Linked DNA regions of Homo sapiens: all the other regions are linked to region 4. The links are contacts of gene promoters, found by promoter capture Hi-C in blood cells and fetal thymus (Javierre and others, 2016). All regions are on one chromosome and are shown on one strand. The core of a region is centred on a gene start or on the middle of the fragment in contact, and the rest is flanking DNA. Distances in the headings are between cores, read along the strand shown. Region 1 has its middle 120 kb from the start of ICE1. Region 2 has its middle 84 kb from the start of ICE1. Region 3 overlaps ICE1 (interactor of little elongation complex ELL subunit 1). Region 4 holds the start of MED10 (mediator complex subunit 10). Region 5 overlaps ICE1 (interactor of little elongation complex ELL subunit 1). Region 6 overlaps ICE1 (interactor of little elongation complex ELL subunit 1).

Region 1 (4,021 bases), core at 166-2,665, 830 kb after region 4:
TGATTTAGGCTGGGACATCAAAGAGTTATATTATAGAATTAAGAGCAACCAGAAACACACTGACTCTCAGACAAAATCAGTATCCAAGCTTTGAGCCATGCCGATCCCTGAGGAGTCAAAGTAATCCTGGCCTTCGAACTCCCTAGCCTAGTTACCCTCTGGTAGCCAATTGAAACCCTCTGTGTAGAAAGATGGCATCATCCAGAGACTCAAATTAGCTCTACAAGTTTTCAAATACAATGCCTATGCCCAGTCTAAAATTATTATGCATAAGGAGATAAGAAAAAATTATTTAAAATAAAGAGAAATAGTACACCCATAAGTGAGTCAGATAATGGCATTATCAGATACAGACTTCAAAATAGCAAGGGTTAATACATTTAAGGAAATAAAGGCTACACTGAGAATTCCTGTAGAGAACCAGAAACTGTTTTTCTAAATCCAAGTGGATGTTCTAGGACTGCAATAACAGCATGCTAATGGATTTAAGAGAAAATTATAAAAAGCTAAAGATGAAATTATTAAACTGAGATAGGTCAGAAAGAATTATCCAGACAATGTAATGAGAATTACAGAAAGAACAGAAGAGATGCAGAGATGTGGTAAGATGGTCTACATTACTTATAACTGAATTTCCAGAAACACAAGAGAAAAATAAAGAAGCAAAAAATAATAATTTTCCAAAATTGATGGAAGCCCTCAAGCCACATATTCAAGAAGTTCTACAAACCCCAAACAAGATAAATGCAAAACACCACACCTAGACACAGGATGGAAAAATCCCTAAAAACAAAAGAAAAAGCAAGCAGAGAAAAAAAGAAAATTACTTTCGAAGTGGTCTCCATAAGACTTAAAACAAATGTCTCACTCGAAATGATATAAAAACCAGAAGAGAATAAAAAGATATCTTCAAATTCAAAAAAAAAAACAACAAGATTTTAAATTTAGTTAGGTTCTAGAAAAATATATCTCAAAGACAAAAGTAAAATTAAGACACATTGGGACAAACAAAATTGACAGAATGTGTCAGCATTGGAACCACACTGAAGAAAATGCTCAAGGAAATGTATTCATCTGCTGCTAAAACCTGAAGAAGGAAGAGAGGTGAAGCTTGAAATATGTGAGTAAATCTAAACAGAATTGTTGATTAAAACGACAATAATGCAGAATTAAAATAAATGGCCATAATAATACATAAGGTGGGAGGAAGCTAAATGGAGTTAGGGCAGCCTGAATTTCCTGCACTGAGTGCAAAGGAGTGAACCTGCTTATGTATATTTGACTTGGTAGGTCAAGGACACCTGTTATGTTCTCTTAGCAGGATCACTGGTTTTAGAAGAGTGTATAACGACCGAGTAATGAACCGAATGTCTGTGTCCAAAAAATGTCTGTGTTGAAATCTGAACCCTCAGTGATCTCTAATGAGATGGTACTAGGAGGCGGGCCCTCTGAGAGGTGATTAGATCAGGAGGGTGGAGCCCTCGTGATAAGTGTTCTTATATAAGGAGCACGTCTCTCTCTTCCCCAGCCGCCCAATCTCTCCCTCTGTGAGGGCAGTGCCATGTGAGGGCACTGTAAGAAAGTAGCCATCTGTGAGCCTAGAATAAGACCCTCACCCCAAACCCAACCATGCTGGCAGCCTGATCTCAGACCTCCAGGCCCCAGAACTGTGAGAATTAAATGTTTGCTATTTAAGCCACCCAGTCAATGGTAAGCTTGCTACAGCAGCCTGAACCAACTAAGACTAAGAAATTAAATAATTAGGCAGGGCGCAGTGGCTCGCACGTATAATCCCAGCACTTTGGGAGGCCGAGGAGGGCAGATCATGGGGTCAGGAGTTCGAGACCAGCCTGGCCAACATAGTGAAACCCCATCTCTACTAAAAATACAAAAAAATAGCCGGGTGTGGTGGTAGGCACCTGTAATCCCAGCTACTGGGGAGGCTGAGGCAGGAGAATTGTTTGAACCCGGGAGGCGGAGGTTGCAGTGAGTGCCATTGCACTCCAGCCCGGGTGACAGTGCGAGATTGTCTCAAAAAAAAAAAAAAAGAAGAAGAAATGAAATAATTATTATAAAAAAATACTTAACCAATTCAATAAAAAGGGGCAATGTTAAGGAGAAAAACAAGGAAGAAGAACATCTCTTCCAGATATCAAGACTTACTAGACCATAATTAAGACACTTTGGTACTGACATAAGGACGAACAATCTTATAAAAATGGAATAACCTCTTTGGAAAACTGGCATAAGCAACTACATATGGTCATTTGCTGCACCACGAAGGTGGCCCTGAAACACAATGAGGATATAATGGTCTCTCCAGTAAATGGTGCTGACACCCATAGGGAAGTAAATGAATCACAGGACATAAAATCAATTCCAGGTGGATTAAAGACCTAACTGTGAAACATAAAGCAAAAAGAGTTCTAGAGAATGACAGAATATCTTCATGACCTTGGAAAAGACATAAATGAAAAGACTAACAGAGCTGTGTTAAATTTAAGAAAGTGCGTTCATCAAAAAAGACATTAATAAGGGAGTGACAAGGCGAGCCTCGGAGTAACAAAAGATCTTTGCATCACAGACAACCTCCAAAGGACTAGCATGCAGAAACCCTAGTAATCAACAAGAAAAAGAGAACCCTATAGAGAAAAGCAGGCAAGAGACTTGCAGGGAGAGCAGAATATGGACCCTAATATATGAAGAATTGTTGAGCTGAAGGCGATTAAGAAGCAGCAGAAACAGAGAAGTTCTCCGTGCTCTATTTGCCTAAAAGCCAGACATAGATTTACAAAGACAAAGGGAATCCTGCCCACCCCTTCTACCAGGAAGAAAAAAGTTACCCACTGACAACAACATAGGTCCTTATCTGCCTGGCGATGGTCCCAGAGGACTCTGCATGAGCAAGCCTCACCAGCTCGCCTTTATCTGACAGTTATCTGCCTCCCTTCAAGTTGTAGTCTCTGGAGACCAATGGACTGTCCCCTTGTCTTGTCACTGCTCTAAAAATTTACTGTCCTTTGTTGCAGATGCCACATAAGCTGGAATTCAAAGCCACATCTTTGAGAACTGCTCATTCCCTGGGTACTTCCCAGGTACATATGAAATGCACTTCTGTTTGTTTTTCTCTTCTTAACCTGCCTTTTGTTACAGGGTCCATTCCAACTAAGGACCTATGGGAATTATTCTTCCCCTACAACTTGAATAGGTATTTCACAAAAGAGCACATCTAAATAAATGGTTAATGAACACAAAAAATGTGTTTAATTTTTTAGGCATCTAGGGAAATATTTTATAAAGACCACAATAGAGTACCATGACACACCATCCAAAATGGATAAATTGAAAGACTGATGGTAACAAGCAATAGCACAACAGCTTTGAAAATTGTTTGATATTATCTACTGATTTTGAATGAATGCCTACCTTACAACCCAAAAATTATACTGTTTGGTCTATACCCAAAGGAAATGCATGCACAAATACACCAAGAGACATGGATGAGAATATTTATGGCAGCATTATTCAAAATAGCCAACAGCTGAAAATAATTATAATGTTCATCCACAGTGGAATGCGAAATAAATGGTAGAAAACTAACACAACTATCATGAAGCAACGAAAATGAACTGACCATAGCTATGTGCTACAACGTGGCTGAATCTCACAAGTGGAGCTGAATGAAAAAAGCCAGTAATGAGGGGATTATACTACCTGATTCCACTTTTGCAAAATTCAAAATGAGCAAAGCTGATCTAAGATGGTGAAAGTCACGTGGTGGGTCACAGTGACTGGGGGCGGCCTGAGCCACACTCTGGGGTCCTGACGATGTTCTGTACCTTGGTCTAAGTATTGGTAATAAGGATATTTAAGTGCCAACATTTGATTGGCTGTAACTAGTGATTTGTGTATTTTGTGTACCTGTATTATATTTCACCCTGAAAAGAAAAAATGGTGTACTTTTAAATGTCAAACTTGAAAGCATAAGAACTTTAAAATTTGGTAGCTGAAGTTGGAAATA
Region 2 (3,677 bases), core at 812-3,311, 870 kb after region 4:
TAGACAGACAGATAGACAGACAAAGAGAGAAATTTTAAGGAATTGTCTTACATGTTTGTGGAGGTTGGCAAGTCTGCAATCCATAGGGCAGGCATCAGAATCTGGAAATTTAGGGAAGAGTTGATATTGCCATCTTGAGTCCAAATTCCACAGAGCAGCAGGCTGGAAACTCAAGTTTCCATATTGCAGTCTTCAGACAGAATTTCTTCTTCTTTGGGAAACCTCCATCTTTGCACTTCAGGCCTTCCACTGATTGGATGGAGCTCACCCACATCCTTGAGGGTCATCTCAGTTAGAGTGAACTGATTATAGATGTTAATCACATCTGGACAAGATCTTCAGAGCAACATGTAAACTGGTGTTAGACCAAACTACCATACACCAAAGGCCAGGCAATTTGATACATAAAATTAATCATCCGAGCTGGCATAGATTGTCTTCTTTCTAGAACTTCCACAGGGCAAGAACAGTGATTTTCCCCCAAAAAGCGGCCAGTCCTTGGGGTCCATCAGCTGCTGTCCTGGAACCACAAGAGCTCCCAGCATGGGGAACTGCAGAGGGAAGAGGGAGGGACAGACAGCTGGTGGTTCTTGCGCTGCTCTCAGATTCTGCCCTTTTTCCTCCTAGACGGTTTTGTTGAGGAATCTCCAAGGACCATGGTGGTTCCTACCATGCTCTCTCAGCCTCAGGGGTGACATAATTATGCAGATGCACCCAAGGGAAACTTTAATTTTAGTGCAATTTATACACGGAAGTGCTCAGATCTCAAGTATACCTTACGGTGCCTGTCAAGACACAGAGCATCTTCCCCGTCCCAGAAAGGCACCTAATTCTCCTTCCCGTGAGTCCTCCACTGCAAAACCTGCACTGATCAGATTTCTGTCACCCTCAGTCTCTTGTGCTTATTTCTTCAAGTTTGTATGGATTAAATCACCTGGGATGTACACTTCTGTGTTTGCTGTACTCCTCTTAGCCTGTTACTCTTGAGACTCATGCATATTGTGTGCTGACTGCTATCCAAGTGCATGAGCAAAGCATAATTTACCCACGTGTTGATTAAACAATCCAGGTTTGACTATTATAAAAGTCTTTTTTGTAAAGGAACTTTTATGAATATATTGCATTTATTTTTGACAAATACCTGGGAATGACATCACTGGGTCATAGGATGGAAGTATATTATTTTAGGAGAAGACAGACAGTTTGCCAAAGTGGCTGTACCATTTTCCACCCCTGCCAGCAGCAGATAAGCATCCCAGGGCTCCGCATTCCTCCCAGCACCTGCTGCAGTCAGCCTTGGGCATTGCAGGTCTTCTAGGGCAGCATGCGGTAGGAGCTCCTGGGGTGTCTAGTTTGTATTTTCTTGATGGTTGATGAAGTTGAGCAGGTTTTCATGTGCTTATTTGCCATTTTTATGTCTTCTTTTGTGAACAGCCTCTTTGCTTTTTTTCTCCTTTAAATTGTGTTCTTTGTCTTATTATCATTGAGTTTTAGAAGTTCTTCATGTAATTTGGATACAAATCCTCTTTCTTATGAATACATTCTCACAGTCTGTGACTTAACTGTTTATTTTGTTGATAATGTTTTGTGATGAAGATTTTATTTTTTTTGAGACAGGGTCTCATTCTGTCACCCATGCTGGAGTGCAGTGGTATGATCTTGGCTTACTGCAACCTCTGCTTTCTGGGCTCAAGAGATCCTCCCAGCTCAATCCCCCAAGCAGCTGAGAGTACAGGAGCGATCCACATGCCTGGCTAATTTTCGTATTTGTTGAGCTCAAGCAATCCACCCACCCCGGCCTCCCAAAGTGCTAAGATTACAGGCATGAGCCGCTGTGCCTGGCCGGATTGTTTTATCTTGATGAAGTATAATTAATCGTTTTTTAATTTTATCAGCATGTTTTTTGTCTCCTAAAAAATCTTTGCTTGCCCCAAGATCACAGACGTAATCTTCTGTGTTTTCTTCTAGAAGTTTTATGATTGTTTTAGCTTTTACATTTGGGTCCATAATTCATCTCAAATTGACTTTGTATGCAGTATATTAGTGATCAAGTTCTTTTTATAGTGGATCTCACATAAGGCACATTTTAAAATATAATTACAAAATATTGATTACAGTTGACTCTTGAACATTGAACAATGTGGGGTTAAGGGCACCAACCCTCTACACAGTCCAAAATTTTTTGACTCCCCCCAAATTTAGCTACTAATAGCCTGTTGACTGAAAGCCTTACCAATAACAGAGTTAATTAATACGGGTTTTCTATATTGTGTGTATTATATACTGTATTGTTACAATAAAGTAATCTAGAAAACAGAAAATGTTATTAAGAAAATCATAAGGAAGAGAAAATGTATTTACTTTTCATTAAGTGGAAGCAGATCTTCCCAAAGGTCTTCATCCTGGTTGTATTTTCTTGAGTATGCTGAGGAGGAGGAGGGAGAAGATAAATTGTTCTGATTGTCTTAGGGGTGGCAGAAGCAAAAGAAAGTCTGCAGGGTTCAAACCCATATTGTTCAGGAGCAACTGTAATAGAGTAGCAATATAGACTTGCTTCCATTTGGCTGTTAACACGGGATTTGAAAACTGGCTTTAGTACACCTGAGAGGGTTAGAGAAACTCATGTAATTCACCGCCTCCTCTTGCTTTTCCACTTCCTCTACTTGGGACTACTTTGACTTACTAACCACATTTATTTATCACTGTCGGTTTCCTTGCTGTCAAAATAGAAGTTTATTTTCATCCCCCCTGTGTGTAGCACAGCACATGTGACAGACATTCTCCAGATGGTATTGCCTCCCTTGATATTTTTCTCTCTTTCCTTTTTTTAAATTATGAAATTTACCATTCATGGATATATATGCACAGTTTAAAGAATAAACATACTCTCTTTTTCTCCCTCATACACAAATTTATAAGGTTTTTTATAATTATACAAATATGTACCCTTTTTTGGTGCTTTTCATTGCTTCTTACAGGTTCAGGGTTAAATCTGTTATAATTTTTCTTCAGCCTGAGACAATTATCGTAGTATTTCTTTTTTTTTTTTTTTTTTCCTTTTGAGACAGGGTCTCCCTCTGTCGCTCAGGCTGGAATGCAGTGGCATGATTGTGACTCACTGCAACCTCTGCCTCCTGGGTTCAAGTGATTCTCATGCTGCAGCCTCCCGAGTAGCTGGGACTACAGCTACACACCACCAGGCCCAGCTAATTTTTGTATTTTTTTGTGGAGACACGGTTTCACCATGTTAGCCAGGCTGATCTTGAACTCCTGACCTCAAGTGATCTACCTGCTTCAGCCTCCCAAAGTGCTGAGATTTACAGGCATGAGCCACTGCACACAGCCAATTGTGGTATTTCTTAAAGAGAAGGTCTGATGGAGAGAAATTCTCTTAGCTTTTATCTCTTGAAAATGTATTTATTTTCCCTTCATTTTAAAATTAATCTCCTTTTTGAGATAATAGTAGATTCAGATACAATTGTAAGAAATGCAGAGAGATCCCACATATTTTTTACTGAGTCTCCTCCAATGATGACAACTTACAAAATTATAGTACAATATCATAATCAGGTATAGACATTGATACAGTCAAGATGTAGAACAGTTCCATCACCTACAGGATCTCTCATGTTGCCCTTTTTTAGAAACACTTAACTGTCTCTTCCCTACATCCATCC
Region 3 (3,655 bases), core at 988-3,487, 930 kb after region 4:
TTTCCAAACCAGGCACAGCAATCCCAACCCCTAGTTAAGGAAGAATTCAAGGCATAAAAGGGAGTTGCCGTCCCATTTCAATCACTGGCAACCTTAAAGTCCTAGAAATTTTAGAAATGTGATTTTATCTCAGAATATAGCCTCTTTATTAGGGAGGGGAGAGGCGATTTTCTCAATGCTTATTATAGATATGGTTATTCTTCCCTGGAATTCTCTTCAACAAGTTAGCTAAACATAATCCCTAGGACCTTTATTAGAGATCTATTTTAGGTAATCCTTCATTTTCATTTTTGTTTCTGAAGCCTCAAATGGTCCAGACATACTATTAAGAATCTGACCAGTACTGACTTTACATAACTATGCTCATATACAATTACTAACTAAAACTCCATGAAACACCTCAGTAACAATCCTCTCCTGACTCCTCTAACAAGTTTGGATATTTTTTTTCTCAGTAATCTTTATTAAGTCACACCGATAAATTTTTTTTACTAGAAAAACTACTTTTTATACACGAAAAATAAAGGCGGCATTTTGCTTCACAGAAAGTCTGTTCTAAAACCTGTATATATAGTCTCACTGGCACTTCAGATTTCTTTAAAGATGTTTCCTTGCAGTGGCTCACGACTGTGATCCCAGCACTTTGGGAGGATGAGCAGGTTTCTTGAGCCCAGGAGTTCAAGACCAGCCTGGGCAACATAGTGGAACTCTGTCTCTACAAAAATTAGTCGAAATTAGTCGGGTGTCGTGGTGCACACCTGTAGTTCCCAGCTACTCAGGAGGTGGAATAATCACCTGAGTCTGGGAGGCTGAGGCTGCAGTAAGCCATGACTGCACCACTGTACTCCAGCCTAGGTGACGGAGTGAGACCCTGTCTCAAAAAAATAATTTCCTTGGCTGGGCACAGTGGCTCACACCTGTAGTATCAGCACTTTGGGAGACTGAGGCAGGAGAATCACTCAAGCCAAGGAGTTCAAGACCAGCCTGGGCAACCCTATCTCTACAAAAAATTTAAAAGGCAGGTGTGGTAGCACACACCTATAGTCCCATCTACTCTGGAGGCTGAGGCTGGAGGATCACCTGAAGGCAGAGTTACCATGAGCTATGATTTTGCCACTGCACTCCAGCCTAGGCAACAGAGTGAGACCTGTCTCTAAAAAATAAAAGCAGTGGGCCAGGCGCGGTGACTCACGCCTGTAATCCCAGCACTTTGGGAGGCTGAGGCAGGCGGATCACCTGAGGTTAGGAGTTCAAGACCAGCCTGGCCAACATAACCCCATCTCTACTAAAAATATAAAAAAGTTAGCCAGGTGTGGTGGCACATGACACATAGGCCCAGCTACTCAGGAGGCTGAAGCAGAACCCGGGAGACAGAGGTTGTAGAGAGCCGAGATCACGCCACTGCACTCCAGTCTAGGCGACAGAGCGAGACTTCCTCTCAAAAAAAAAAAAAAATTCTTTTTTAAATAAAAAATGTGGCTGGGTGCAGTGGCTCACACCTGTAATCCTAGCACTTTAGGAAGCTGAGGCGGGCAGATCACTTGAGGTCAGGAGTTCGAGACCAGTCTGGCCAACATGGTGAAAGCCAAAAATTAGCTAGGTTTGGTGGTGCGTGCCTGTAGTCCCAGATGCTCGGGAGGCTGAGGTGGGAGAAACTCTTAAATCCAGAAGGCAGGGGTTGCAGTGAGCCGAGATCGCACCACCTGTCCAGCCTGAGTGACAGAGAGAGACCCTGTCTCAAAAAATAAAATATGATAAATAAAAAATTTAAAAAGTTTAAAAATTAAAAAAATTTTGTTTAAATACAATAGACACTTATCTCCATATTCTTACAAGAGACACCAATACTTAGAACACAAAATATCATTCTTACTGCCATATTGTCAGTATTCATGCAATAATCAAACCAGAGGAAAAATTGTTACCGAAATATTTAGAGTTCCAGTCCAAAAAATTTGGTTCAATCAAGAAAAATTAGTGACTAGAAATACTTTCCGCAACTATTATTCTATGTGCCCGGATGTAACTAAATTCAAACTCTAACTTCACGCTCTAAATGAACATAAACCATCTCTGAAGTAGAGCACTAGCAAGATAATGGGTCAGAAACCCATAGCAGGTAAGATGCCCGCTGCAGTCCAGGCTGGAATGACAGGAAGATCGTGTGCAGGATGGATCTGGCAGAGCCCCTTTGTCTCTACTTGGTATTAGGTCTGTGTCCCACCCACACAATGAAGGGAGGAAAAAGCAAATAAAAAGATCTTGAGTTCAATTCCTACCAGTTCCTGAAAGGTTATTAGCTGAAATGTGAGGACTTAGATTCTCGCATGGTCCCTCTGCACTCGTACCTACTCACTGTAGGCTAGAACCCCTAACAAGAGGGTGAGGCACGGGTGAGGATCAGGTACAAACTGGACAATCCCTAATGTACAAAATTTCATCGAAATCTCTGTATGTGTGTTATAACTATCTAAATACATGTTTCTTGGTACTAAAAGTAGCCACCCTTTCCACCAGCTACTTATTTCATTAAGAAAAAAAGAAAAAGCCCTATGAGATTCAACTTTCCAAATTAAATTCTTTCATTAATTACTGCTTTTTATAGCAAAAGTATGGGCTGCGATTACTTTGAGTGCAGTAACATTTCGGAGATTTGCCACATTCCATCTCTATGTTACCATTTGGTAACTGAGAGGAGAGTAGTATTCACACTTCTTTCTAATAGACCCCTTGATGCAGTCATCCATGGATGTACCATCAAAAACCATAACAATTCAACTATTTGATCAAGAAGTACCTCCTCATACAGTTACCAGTGATTTTTGTACTGACCGAAAACTTCAGGTAACAATAGTGCCACTTACCTTGCAGCTTCTTCACCTTAGCTTCTAGTTTCTTCTTCCTAATAACGAAATTGTGTAAGTTAAATGGCAAGAAAGAGAGAATAGGAAAAAATATGCCTTATAATTTGTGGCACATATTTTTTAAATTACAAATATTTGTATAACAAATGTTCAGTCTGAACTAGTATCCTAAGAGAGAATAATATACTATTTAGTATGAAATATCTTTACAGTGGATTAAAAAATTCTGTTCTTTCCACTTGAAACACATGCCATGGGCCTGTCAAATTTCTGCCATGAGTACATCTGGGACCCTTCCTGAACTGCAGTGGCATCATTCATGAGACTAGCTGAAGTTTCTAGATGGTCTCTAAGAGTCAGTCCAGAGTCTAATGAGTTAAGGTTACTCTTCAGGAGCATGCATAGCGTTAACAGTGGTCACAGCACCACCGTATGGAAAGCAGTGGTTGAAGAGCTACACTTGCTTTAAGATGGATTTCTGAGAGTCTGAAAAGGTGGATAACTCTCTGAGTCACTGCTTCATTACATCTACATTCAACTGTTTTATGTATAGCTCACATTTGTTGTGAATAACATGACTATAGTATGAACCTCAATGATCAAGGGGATGCTTCTGAACAGCCCTTTTTATGAATAGTAGCAAAGATACCCATTCCACATGCTATCGGTTAAAGCACTGGCACAAAGCAAGGGGTCAGTCATTATGTTCTGACACACAGACACAAGTGAATGAGTACATAATGCATTATATACACAGACAAACACCTTTAGACACACACAGACACATGTGC
Region 4 (4,076 bases), core at 433-2,932:
TGTAAGGTGACATCTCATTATGCTTTTAATTTGTATTTCCCTGATGATATGTGATGCTGAGCATTTTTGCTGGTCATTTTTATGTCTTCTTTTGAGAAGTATCTGTTCAGGTCCTTTGCCCATTTATAAATTTCTTCTTTTGCTTTTTTGCTGTTGAGTCGTGTGCCTTTAATTTTTGCACTTTACGTTGTGAGTTTTATTTTCCATGCTTGTTCTTTGCTTCTTTATTCTCTTCTTTTCTTGCCTTCTATTGAGTTGATTGTGTTTTCTTTATTCCCTTCCCCCTGTCTACTAGTTTGGGAATTATATATACTAGCAAAGAGATACCCTTAAATTTTTAAAATAAATACTTACCAAAGCCTAAGTTCCATCAATTATCTATCTTTCTTACTTATGAAATTGAGAAAGGCCGTTCACTCCATGTCGCTACCTCTACCTAATAACTTAAAATTTTTTATTTGTCTAATATTTTATTTCCACCTTTTTTTTTTTTTTTTGAGTCTTGCTCTGTTGCCCAGGCTGGAGTGCAGTGGCATGATCTCGGCTTACTGCAACCTCTGCCTCCTGGGTTCAAGCAATTCTCCTGTCTCAGCCTCCCAAGTAGCTGGGACTACAGGCGCACACCACCATGTCTGACTAATTTTTGTATTTTTAGTAGAGACAGGGTTTCTCCATATTGGTCAGGTCGGTCTCGAACTCCTCACCTCAGGTAATCCACCTGCCTTGGCCTTCCAAAGTTCTGGGATTACAGGCCTGAGCCACCACGCCCAGCCTCCATCTTGTTTTATAATTCCCTAAAGTTAATTGTTGTTAAATCAGGAGAGAAGTATTTTATGTAACATTTCTGTTTATCAGCCCAGCCCACCAACTGGAGTGCCCTGATTCCATAAGTTTGGCAAGTCACTTACCTTCTCTGGCTTTCCATTTCTGGTCACAGCTGGGAGAGGCTCTGAAGATCATCTAGCAAAGGAGCTCCCTCACTTTGCCTGTTTCTAGGCACTGAAAAGTACAGGCCACAAATATATTCAGTAAAATAAATCACTTGAGAAATTCAAACAGGCTAGAGGAGATATCCGCTATCATAGGAGATCGGGCAGAAAAGTTTCTTAAACATAAGAGTGAAATGACCTAAACTGAATTTCAATGAGATAAACAGCAGTTTACTAAGACAGGGCAACCCCACAGGGTGCTGTTTGGTCAGAATTGGCCCGAGGAGGTGAGACCCTGACCTACGAAGGCAGCAGGTGTCCGGGAAGCATGGTTAGCAGCAAGAGCTAGGGGAGGTGGCCGCCGATTACATAGAAGAAAGGAGGCAGGCAGGCGCTGATCCCAGGGGTTCTGGTAGAGGGGCAGGGAAACTACCGTTATTGGTCCTTCATGCAAACTTTAGGATTTTCATCCATGTGTGTATTGCTTGAAGATGCTGCATTGCAGAAAGTCTTCAACTTCTCCCATGACCGAGGCAGGTCTGATGAGAGTGCAAACAGTTAGTACTCGCCCAGCTGCGCGCCGAGGCCTCCTCCAGAATCCAGACCGCATCCCCGAAAGCCCGCCCTGCCCCGCACTTAGGCCCCGCCCCAACACGCCCGTCCCGATAACGAGGCTCCGCCCCCAAGAGCTCGCCCGCGCTCCCCCAGAGGAAACGGAAGTCGTATCTGTCCGGACGGAAGCAGGAAGCGGGAGCGTAGGGCCACGCCTGCGGCGCTGCTGGTTGAGGCTGTGTGGGTCGGGGACGGGCCGAGGCGATGGCGGAGAAGTTTGACCACCTAGAGGAGCACCTGGAGAAGTTCGTGGAGAACATTCGGCAGCTCGGCATCATCGTCAGTGACTTCCAGCCCAGCAGCCAGGCCGGGCTCAACCAAAAGCTGTGAGTGGCGGCCCGAGGCTGCCGGGGTCTCCCCAGGGCCTGGCCGGGAAGCGTGTGCTAGGGGAGCGGGGATCTAGGGAGCCCGAGCCGAGCCTGACCGCTACTCGTGCCCCGCCAGCCCTCTGGTCTGGTCCCGGAGCCCGGGGCGCCTTTCCTGGCTGTGTTCAGAGGGCGGGGCCCGCGCTCCAGCCTGTTGCCAAGAGCCAACCTCTTTGAGGCCCCTTTGGAGACGTCGTCATGGCCAGATGATATACTTTACGTTTCCCTATCAAGGGAATCATGCTTTCTCTTCTAGCGTCTCCCCTCTCATGTGTAACCCCCTCCCAGCCTTTTCCTCCTGGAGCCCTTCTGGGAATTCAGTCCCTGTCTCCAGAGGGGAGGCAGGCTCCACAGTGAGTGCACGCCCTAAACTAGGCCTCAGAAGGTGAGGCTCCGAAGCCACCTGCCGCATAGGCCTGACAGTGGAGGAAATAGCGGGGAGGTGGTGCTGAGAAAGGTTGCAGAACGTTTATTATTATTATTTCTTGGCAACAGCCTTGTGCTGCCCATGTTGCTAGGCCCTGGGTTGGAGAAAAGGCAAATGCAAGTACAGCACTTTCGAGAAGGGCTTTATATGTGGCACGGACATAGAAAATGTTGCACTCGAGGTTCCATACCTAGTGCTGTGGGAATAGCCAGACCAGCCTGATGCTGTAGGAAGGCTCCAGAGAGGAGAGGAAGCTAAACCAGACAGTATGGCTTTCTTTCCCTCAGACTTTGAGTATAGTCCGCTGCCTCATGTGTTCGCTGAAACCGCACACACAGTCATATGCACAGTCAGGTAATTGTTTTTGAGAGAAGGTTCATATTTTTCATCAGGTTCCCTCTCCATCCCCCTTACTGGCAATTTCTAGTTGAGAAGGAAAGTAACAAATATTTAAGGGTATTTTGTAACTCTAACGGTGTCCTAGGAATCCTGTAGCTAACCAAAGAGGTCAGAACCGTGTGTAACCCGCATAGCTGTGAGGAGAACGAACTTGCGTGGAGCCCCGGTTGGCTGGGTAGCTCTGTGGGTGGTGCTTATGCTGTCAAGCGAAATTAACCAGATGCCTGTGTGTTTGCCTTTCCCCCAGGAATTTTATTGTTACTGGCTTACAGGATATTGACAAGTGCAGACAGCAGCTTCATGATATTACTGTACCGTTAGAAGTTTTTGAGTAAGTAACATTCTTGATATTAGTCTTGGGTATAAATCTTGTTCAGTTATGGTGTGGTATCGTGACTTCTTCATCACTGGCATTCGAGTGCCTGCTGTGTGGTAGGCACAGCCTGGGTGCTGGGGATGTGCCAGTGGAAAAAAAAATAGACAAAAATACAAAAATACCTGCCCTTATGGAACTTCCGTTCTAATGGCATTACAAAACGAAAAAAAAGAATATCCTTAATATTCTATTGTGGAAAAAAAGTTACATGTAAATAAAAGCTTATTAAATATATGAAATACATCATAGGTCCTCAAAGCCCTGCTTAGGCTAAAGAACAGCCACAAAACTTTCTTTTTTCCTTAAGAGGTGAAAAGTCCTATGAGGGCTATATTGTAAATTTTTAAAAAATGGCAGCCAGAAGCACCTGAAAAGCAAGCTGGTCTGATGTTCCCAAACTGCCCGTGGAGTGCTAGTTCTGAGAGGTGAAAATATCTGCTCTGTCGAAGGAGGAAAGAAAGGGTTCTTATTCCAAGTATGTTTGGGGAGGCTGCTCACTGTTTTCTGTGCGAGAGTTGTGTGCACCTATGTTAGTAATAGTCCTGAGAACACATACAGGAATGAGCTTTTAGATTTTTAAAATCCAGGTTTTCTTGCATTGATTTGGTCACATCTCTGATTTCACACATGAAGGACCTGATAAGTAACTGCAATAGGTTGTTTACCTAGTAAGTGTCAGAGTTAAGACGAAACCCCCGGACTCATACTTTCTTGACCAGTGCAAAGCAGCCTCTCCCTGATGGTGCTGGCTTGGAACAGCAAGAACATTCTAGTATTTCTTGCAGCAAAACTGCAAATGTAAATCACTAGATTTCGTTAAGCAGTAAAGGGAAAGAGTTATGGCTGTTTTCCATCCCAAAAGGTCAGAGATACAAGTTCTAGCTATAGTGCAGCAGCTGCCTACAAAGACAGGACACAGAGGTGGTTTTCTTGGTCTCTGATCTTCTGTTCACCTGCTGATGACTTTG
Region 5 (3,511 bases), core at 317-2,816, 920 kb after region 4:
AGTCCTTGGAGGTGTAGCTATCAGAGGAGCAAGCAGAGGCGGCAAAGGAGGCCCCACCTCTTGCCGTATTTTACTCAGTGTGTCAGGAGAACAATCTGTAGGAGTGGATGTATCAGCATTTGCTAAAATGGTCTGAGTTTGGCTTCTTTGAGTTTTTGTATTAGCTTTTTCCCCTGAAAATGACTGAGCAACTTCACTCTGATGAGTTTCAACTCTGCTCGACGCTGAAGTTTTTACTGGTTTGTTTGACTGATCTTTGTTTGAAATCTTTGATCGATTCTTATTTTTGCCAGATGGCTCTAGTTTTGAGTTATAATATGTGTGATCAGACGCAACAATCTGAGTCTCGAAGTTTTGATCATAGATTTGAGAACTAATCCATATACTAGGCTTAACGGGTCTATTTCGCAAACGACTCTTATCAAAGTTGGTGCTCTGACCACTGCTTGAAACATCCTCTTGGGGACATGAAAGATTATTGCCACATGGAGCCTCCTGAAATGCAGGGCCAGTGTGACTGGCCTCTGGGGACTTCTCAGCAGAAGTCACTGGGATGCAACCAGCTTCCAGCTCTCCTTGATCCTGAGAAATAGGGATGTCTCCAGGAATGTCACACAGTGTGACCTGGTCCACATGTGGCAAGACAGCTACACCACTGATGATTGTCCAGTTGTCCCCCTTTTCAATGACTAGATTCTGATCCTTATTTATAAGTACGTTTATAACTTCTGAGGTCACTGTTGCTATCTGACACTGAAATGTTGTTTCGGCCTCGCAGTTAGAACTTTGCTCTATGGATGGCTCCATCACAGAGTCAGAGCACAAGGCTGATGGCTCCACAGGTTCTGGCAGGTCTTCTTCCCCACCATCGGTTTGCCTGCCTGCATCTGAACGGGCCTCTGGTCTGCTCTGAGGGTTTTCATTCTGAGGCATACCGCTGATGGGAGAGCTGCCCTCAGTGTCCAAGGCAGCTGCTTGTGGGGTTGGTTCTGAAGCATGTGATGAGGAGCCAGTCGTTTCCCGAAATGGACTTTTCTCTTTTAAATTCTCAGTGGTCATGTTGTTATTTACATTTAAGAGCAATAAACTGCCAGTATCTTTACCATTGCAATCTTCAGAATTTGTTTGAAGTTCTTGCCTAATCTTGGTCAGAACCTCAGACAGAGTTTCCAAAGAACACTGAGTGAGCTGACTTGTATTTTTTAACGAATAATCATCTTCCTCTGATTCAATCCACTCTTCACAGGTTCCAAGTGTTTCTTCCTCACAGGGTTGCTTTCTGTATTTTTCTCCTATTTCACTTGCCTTTAATTCTTTGTTCATTTCTTTACTTAGGGTTCCTTTACTAGAACATTCAGAAACAGAGTCCCCTGAACTATAATCCCCTAACTGACAGCTCTCAAGAAACATCACAACCTCTGATGTGGAAAGTCTATCCAGCTCAGAAAAAGTACTTATGTTAAAATCTTGCAGAGCTGACGTCAAATAACCTACCTCTAAGGAAGGTCTCACCTCGGCTACAGCAGCATCTGTGTCTCCTAAATTTTTCTGTGAGTCATCAGGAGCATCTTGCTGTTCGCTCCCCTCACTGCAGCTAAATGCCTCACTCTCTACCTCAGTGTCGTCTCCCCCCTCTCGAATGCCTGTGTAACAATGTAAGGTACCAGGCAGGCTACTTTGGGAGGTATCCTGTGTCTCTCCATGTTTTCTGCAAAATGCTGAAGAAAAAGTAGTGTCTGTGGTGCCAAAACACTCAGGCAAAGCACCACCGGGAGTTGTAGATTTCAATTTCCAAAGTCCATTAGCATTTTGTGGTGTGCTGGTAGAATCATTTGCAACAGCCAGGGCCTCACCACCAGATCTCCCTGTGTCTCCACAGCTGGTTTCTTCAACAGAAAACCCTCCTGACACAGTCACTTCTGTGGCTGGAAGCATCTCACTGCCATGTGTCCCACTGGAGTCCAGATCTGTGGCCTGAGGCTGCCTTTGCTTCTGCCCATCTCCCTGCACTGCAGCTTCTCTCACAATGTCTTGGTTTTGGATGAGGATATTTTCAGGAGAGAAAGATAATCTGCTATTTGTGGAACAATCAGAATTTTCTACTGGTGAAGAACCACCTGGAGAATTAAAATCTAATTTTCTCCTAGAGGCAGAAACTTCTGGTGAAATGCTTTTCACAGCAGCCACCTCCGTGATGTTTTGTGTTGTATCATCTCTTTCCCCATCACATTTTGCTACAGTTGACATACCGGTTTTGTTGCCACTATTTTCTGTTACTAAGGTAGGCTCAACCCTATGTGGCCTCAAGTGTTCCAATTTGGCACTCTGAACCTTTTCAGGTCTTGTCTGTTTTGTGATAACTGATACTTGATTAGGCAACACCGATGCAGTGGTCTTGAATTCTACAGGATTGTTATTTTCTCTAAGAAGATCAGGCTTGGGTGTTGGTCCTCTATTTTGTAGGAATGGCATTGCCTTTTGTAACTGATGGCTAGTCTTCTGTTCATGTTCTGATTTGGCTCTCAGACTTTCTTCGCCACCTTTCCTTAATAAATCACTATGGTGCCATGAAGTACTTTTAACAAAACCCAAACCACTCTTGATCAAGGCAGCCTGAGAACCTATTAATGATGTGAAATCTGGCTTATTTAGTGTGAGCTCAATTCTTGGATCTTGACTTTCACATTGCCCATCTTTTGTAGCTTTCATAAATACTGACCGAGGAAGTGAATGTATTTTGGTCAAGCCTTTTACTACTTTTGTATATTCTATCCCACTGCTCTTCTGATCATTAAAATTAGATGCTCCCAATTCAGGGCTCAAGGCACACAAGCTATTCTCCAAGTTGTTTCCTCCTATAGAACACTCCGGTGGCTCAGACTGCAGATGTAATGTGTTTAAAGTTTTAGTTTGCAATTTATGTTCTGAATGATGCGGTTCAGTAGAGAATACTTTAGTAGTAATATCTGTATCATTACCACAGTCTAACCCAGAAGAAGACTGGGGATTACTGCCAACAGACAATGCTACCAAGGTAGAAGAGGAAGAAAAACTGGTTTCAATGTCAAGCCCTGCTACATCCATTCCATCACCTGAGTCATCATCTTCTGATTCAGGTGATTCTCCTAAAGTGAACCCTTGAGTATCTTCTTTTTCCTTTTCCAATTCTCTAGATAGTCTGTGAAAATGGCCAGAAACTGTGATACGGTCTGGTTCAGAAGTGATTTCATTAATTCGTGTCCACTTAGTAAACTCTGATTTGGGCGATCCCATCATTTTAGACAATACGGTTTTTCCTTCAGATTCCATGAGTTCATTTAATGGCCTTTTGCCAAGGGGAGAAGAACACAACTCAGACTTCCCAGGGGCAGCTTCCTTCTCTTGTGCAGGGCTGGCAGACAATCTCTCAATGCATAGACCTCGAGTGAGTTTATGAATGGTCTTCTCAGTTTGTACTGACTTATCCATCTCCCTAACCTCCATTTGTGTTTTTGTCTCATGTAAAATGTCT
Region 6 (3,947 bases), core at 1,367-3,866, 890 kb after region 4:
GTTGCCTTGCAGGGCTGCCCCAGCAGGGACATTCCTCCTGCCTGCTTTCAAGTCTGGGTCCCTCCATCCAGGTCCTTGTAATGTTACCTCCTCAGAGAGATCCTCTTCGACCACGATGTGGAAAGAGGCATCTACCCTGCTACTCTATACGCAAAGCTCCAGGTTTTCTTTGTTGCTATTTCCCCAATTTATGATTGTTGTATATACTGGGTGACCACTCGTTTAGGATTTTCCTCTACCCAAATGCCATGTGACTAGCTCCTCCCAGCAAGGCACCTGGCAGAGTATGTTCAACATATTGGTAGTAAGAATGACTATCAACACAAAGCTTCCGAAAGGACAACCAAGTGATTTAAAAATTTCAGTTCTGCCTGTTATAATTACTTAAGGAAGGAGTAACAAAATTGCTGCCAAATGCAATTGTTAAAGGGCAGCAGCTGTAATTAAACAAAAAATCCAATCATGAGGGCCTGTAAACACTTAATTATCTGGCATCTGGTATCACTAAAGAGCATCTCCGTAAATACTCAAAGCTGGGTAAGTACTGGCAATGCAATGTTTCTATCACCAGAAGGCAGGTCTCTTTAGGAATGACCATTTTCTTCTATCTTTGGTTAGATGTCTTCTTCACCCTTGGTAGAGCAGAAGTAACACCCAGTTTCACTCTAATAATCAGAACAGTAATATCCATGGCTTACTTTTATTTTTTATTATAAAAACACATACAAGAGTTTTAAGAAATAACGAATATAAGACAAATCAAAACCATGGTGAGTTATTAAACCCATTTTCTATATACAAATACTAAAATTCCCAAAGTGGAATATCATCCAATGTGAGACACATCATAGCACGGTCCATATGTACACGGCACACAGAGCTCTGCCTGCGCTCATCTGTGAATTGCTCATTACATGTCACTGATAAAAAAATCTGCAAGGGAACTTCTACTCTTCAGTTCTCCTCTTCCTGATGCATTGTCACATATTTTTAAGGAACTTTAGGGATATGAAGAAAATGCATTAAAGTGGGTTTCTGCTAAGGGCTCTGCATGTTTTGCTCTGATCAATTACGCACTACATCTTGAGAAAAACTTTTGCAACTCATTTCCAGCAAAGATAGCAGAAAACTCTAGGTTTTTGCCAATTTATTTTTTCCTAGTCACTCATTGGAACACAAGTCCAACAACAACAGCTCAGGAACCAAATCATGTTTTTATATTGGTAAGTTCATTATAAAATGCCACTCAATTTTAAGAAGCCACTAAAAGGACACTTTCTGCAGCAAAAAAAGGGCTAAGTTCAAGTTTTTGTTGTTTGACAAAGACACAATAATATAACCCATATGTCACAGATCACAACAGCCTTAAGTGAAACGTATTAGATTTAGGGAAAAACGACTATGCGACTGCTTGTTTCTCCTGTCTCCTTGCCAAACAATAAGGAGAGCCTCTGGTCTGTTTTATCTATTTTATGTCTTTTTGTTTTGAAACCTCCCTTTGTATTCTGAAAGCTGATCAAACTATTTGTGTTCAAAATGTGTCAAGGCACTTCTCAAGCCTCAGTGGCATCCCAGGTCAGCCAAGCTCCTCTGTGCTCAGGGCACTGACTTCCTCTAGGCAGCTGACAATCGCAGACGGAACGCTTTTGGAGGCCTCTCTCCGCCAAGCTTCCAGGATCTTGGAAATTTCTGCTGGATTGCTGGGACTCAAGTCACAAAGAGCATACACGGCTGCTAACTGTATACCCCATGGTATATCTGAAAAGAAATTTCAGATCAGTCATAAAACAAGAAAATATCTGTTATTCAAAATTTTAGTGATGTAACCTACTGGAATACTATTCAAATACAGAATGCTTTCTGCCAGCAATGAAAATTAAATATAAAAAAACCCACAGTAAAAAAATTCATTTAAGACCTGTCCACAAATAAAAAAGAAGAAAAGCCAGACAGTAGCTGTCTGTAGTTTCCTGGCCCCAGCAGTGTTCTGAGGACTGTTTGTGTGTTTTTAAAAAGGAGAGGGCCTCCAAGATCCCAGTCACCCACGGCCACGACTGAGCTTCCCAAAACAGTTCTGGAAGGATCACACTCCCATATTTAAGTTTTAATAAAACGTGATCCTAAAACCTTCATTAAACATATGACTCTATGAGATATCCACGGGAAGCATTTATAAATGGACTTTGGAAATGAGAAAACATAATAAGAGATATAATGAAAAACTTTTTGTAGCGTACCATACTTTCAAAAACTACAGTGTATGATTCTGGATTACAGCTAAGTTATACATTACAGTGTATTATCACAGTTCTCTTTTAAGGTAAGTTTATTTCAGAGTTATGAAAATTTCATTTACTTAGATAATTTAGGTTAAACAATTTAGGAGTTAAAGTTGGAGGTTGCACTGTATTCCTACTCCAAAAATCTGAAATCCAAAATGCTCCGAAGCTGAAACTTCTGGAGCATCAACATGACCCACAAAGGAAATACTCACTGGAGCATTCTGATTTTCTGATTAGGGATGCTCTCAACTCATAAATATAAAGGAAACACTCCAAAATCCAAGAAAATCTGAAGTCTAAAACACTTCTGGTCCCAAGCATTTCAAATAAAATATACTCAATGTGTACCTCAGTTTTCTCCAACAAGGTAAACTAGCACTATTTCAAATAATACAAAAGCCCACACATTCAAACATGAATGCTGACAAGCAGGCACAACTGCAGCTCTTAATATTACTCCCCCCCATAAACCACAAGCAATGAGAAAGCACAGAGCACGGGGCACACAGTAAGGCCATGACTCAAACAAATAAAAAAGTGTAACAGTAAGAGAAACACAAGAGGTTAAAAATAATTTTAATAAATAACAGCATGTGGCACTATTTAAAGAGCTAGCTCTGGAGAGGGACAGACCTGGGCAAACAGCAGGGATGGCACTTCCTAGCCTCACCTTCAGCAAATCACTCTTCTCTCTGAGCTTTGGTTTCCTCCTGTATACAAGAAGGACAATGCCATCCACTCAGATGGCTGTCTTGGGGATCCCGTTAGGCTGTGGGGCAGTGCCATGCACAAGGTCTAATCTATAGCAGGCCCCAACATCAGCTCCTCCTTCTCCCTCATGGGGACGAGGATTACCACAGCTTCTAGGTTACACCCACTGTAGTATCAGAGTAAACTGCATCTGCTGGCAAAACAACTCATTAGCCATTATTCTGGCTACTTTCTTTTATGTCAATATACAACCTCAATTGTAAAAAAGTACACTGTAATATGGAAGAAATGTGTACCACTTCAGCAGCTATCCTAAAGTTAAAGAAGGTATTTCAGATAAAGCAGCTTAAATGAGAAACACTGTTCTCATTAAGCTAAATATACAGTCTCCCACTGAAAGCTGAAGACAACCTACCATGTTAAGATCATCTTGGGTGTTATACAGTATTTAAAATGTAACTCTGTGCATTTCTGATGGCATGTTGCTTAACTGTATTATTCCTTGATTATACAATATTCAAAATAAAAACTAGATTCATCCCTTATAAGAGTTACTTTGAGTTAAGCTTCTCCCACAAGAGATAAAATTACATGCTATGCAATACGTAAATGATAATAGAAATCCCCACTACGAAGCCTTGCTCACAAGGTCTCCAGGTTTCCAAGCTCTCCCCCCTTGATGCTAAGTACTCTGTGATACCTGGCATCTCACTGTACATCACGGATTTCATTCCGTCAAGACACAGCTCCACCCAGGAGGCCTCGCAGAGAGCCCAGGTTAAGTCACTTGTCAGGGATCACACAGTACAGAGTTTTAGAGGCAGAATGTTAGCCGCAGGAAGAGAAGAGACTTTCTTCTTCCTTAGGAAAGCAGTGCCCAACAAGGCAAACGACTTTTATTTAAGTAATCAAATACCACCACAAAATCCACACACACATTCCAATATTAATGCT

What was found. The method cuts DNA at HindIII sites, captures the fragments that hold promoters and counts their contacts. A CHiCAGO score of 5 or more calls a contact.
Region 1: a contact is called between a fragment that was not itself captured here and the fragment with the promoter of MED10 in region 4, in 1 of 17 cell types (naive CD8 T cells). The highest score is 5.0, in naive CD8 T cells.
Region 2: a contact is called between a fragment that was not itself captured here and the fragment with the promoter of MED10 in region 4, in 7 of 17 cell types (naive CD8 T cells, total CD4 T cells, activated CD4 T cells and 4 more). The highest score is 14.4, in naive CD8 T cells.
Region 3: a fragment that was not itself captured here is called in contact with the fragment with the promoter of MED10 in region 4 in 2 of 17 cell types (naive CD8 T cells and activated CD4 T cells); the score reaches 6.4 in naive CD8 T cells.
Region 5: a fragment that was not itself captured here is called in contact with the fragment with the promoter of MED10 in region 4 in 4 of 17 cell types (naive CD8 T cells, total CD8 T cells, activated CD4 T cells and 1 more); the score reaches 8.4 in naive CD8 T cells.
Region 6: a fragment that was not itself captured here is called in contact with the fragment with the promoter of MED10 in region 4 in 14 of 17 cell types (naive CD4 T cells, total CD8 T cells, naive CD8 T cells and 11 more); the score reaches 18.7 in naive CD4 T cells.

The regions. Positions count from the first base shown.
Region 1 is chr5:5,541,746-5,545,766 of GRCh38, reverse strand. No RefSeq gene overlaps it. Among named protein-coding and RNA genes, the nearest start is that of ICE1, 120 kb to the right of the region's middle. The HindIII fragment of the contact is 605 bases long and covers 1,113-1,717 here.
Region 2 is chr5:5,505,042-5,508,718 of GRCh38, reverse strand. No RefSeq gene overlaps it. Among named protein-coding and RNA genes, the nearest start is that of ICE1, 84 kb to the right of the region's middle. The HindIII fragment of the contact is 5,351 bases long and covers 1-3,677 here.
Region 3 is chr5:5,443,536-5,447,190 of GRCh38, reverse strand. It overlaps ICE1 (interactor of little elongation complex ELL subunit 1), which reads right to left. Exons shown (of 19, transcript NM_015325.3): 7 at 2,865-2,902. Among named protein-coding and RNA genes, the nearest start is that of ICE1, 23 kb to the right of the region's middle. The HindIII fragment of the contact is 9,536 bases long and covers 1-3,655 here.
Region 4 is chr5:6,376,153-6,380,228 of GRCh38, reverse strand. It overlaps MED10 (mediator complex subunit 10), which reads left to right and starts at 1,682. Exons shown (of 4, transcript NM_032286.3): 1 at 1,682-1,867; 2 at 2,980-3,063. The coding sequence starts at 1,746. RefSeq lists enhancers at 1,228-1,447, 1,738-1,947. The HindIII fragment of the contact is 6,030 bases long and covers 1-3,331 here.
Region 5 is chr5:5,460,762-5,464,272 of GRCh38, reverse strand. ICE1 (interactor of little elongation complex ELL subunit 1) reads right to left here. Exons shown (of 19, transcript NM_015325.3): 13 at 1-3,511. Among named protein-coding and RNA genes, the nearest start is that of ICE1, 40 kb to the right of the region's middle. The HindIII fragment of the contact is 5,661 bases long and covers 1-3,511 here.
Region 6 is chr5:5,486,960-5,490,906 of GRCh38, reverse strand. ICE1 (interactor of little elongation complex ELL subunit 1) reads right to left here. Exons shown (of 19, transcript NM_015325.3): 19 at 687-1,758. The coding sequence ends at 1,577. Among named protein-coding and RNA genes, the nearest start is that of ICE1, 66 kb to the right of the region's middle. The HindIII fragment of the contact is 1,891 bases long and covers 1,671-3,561 here.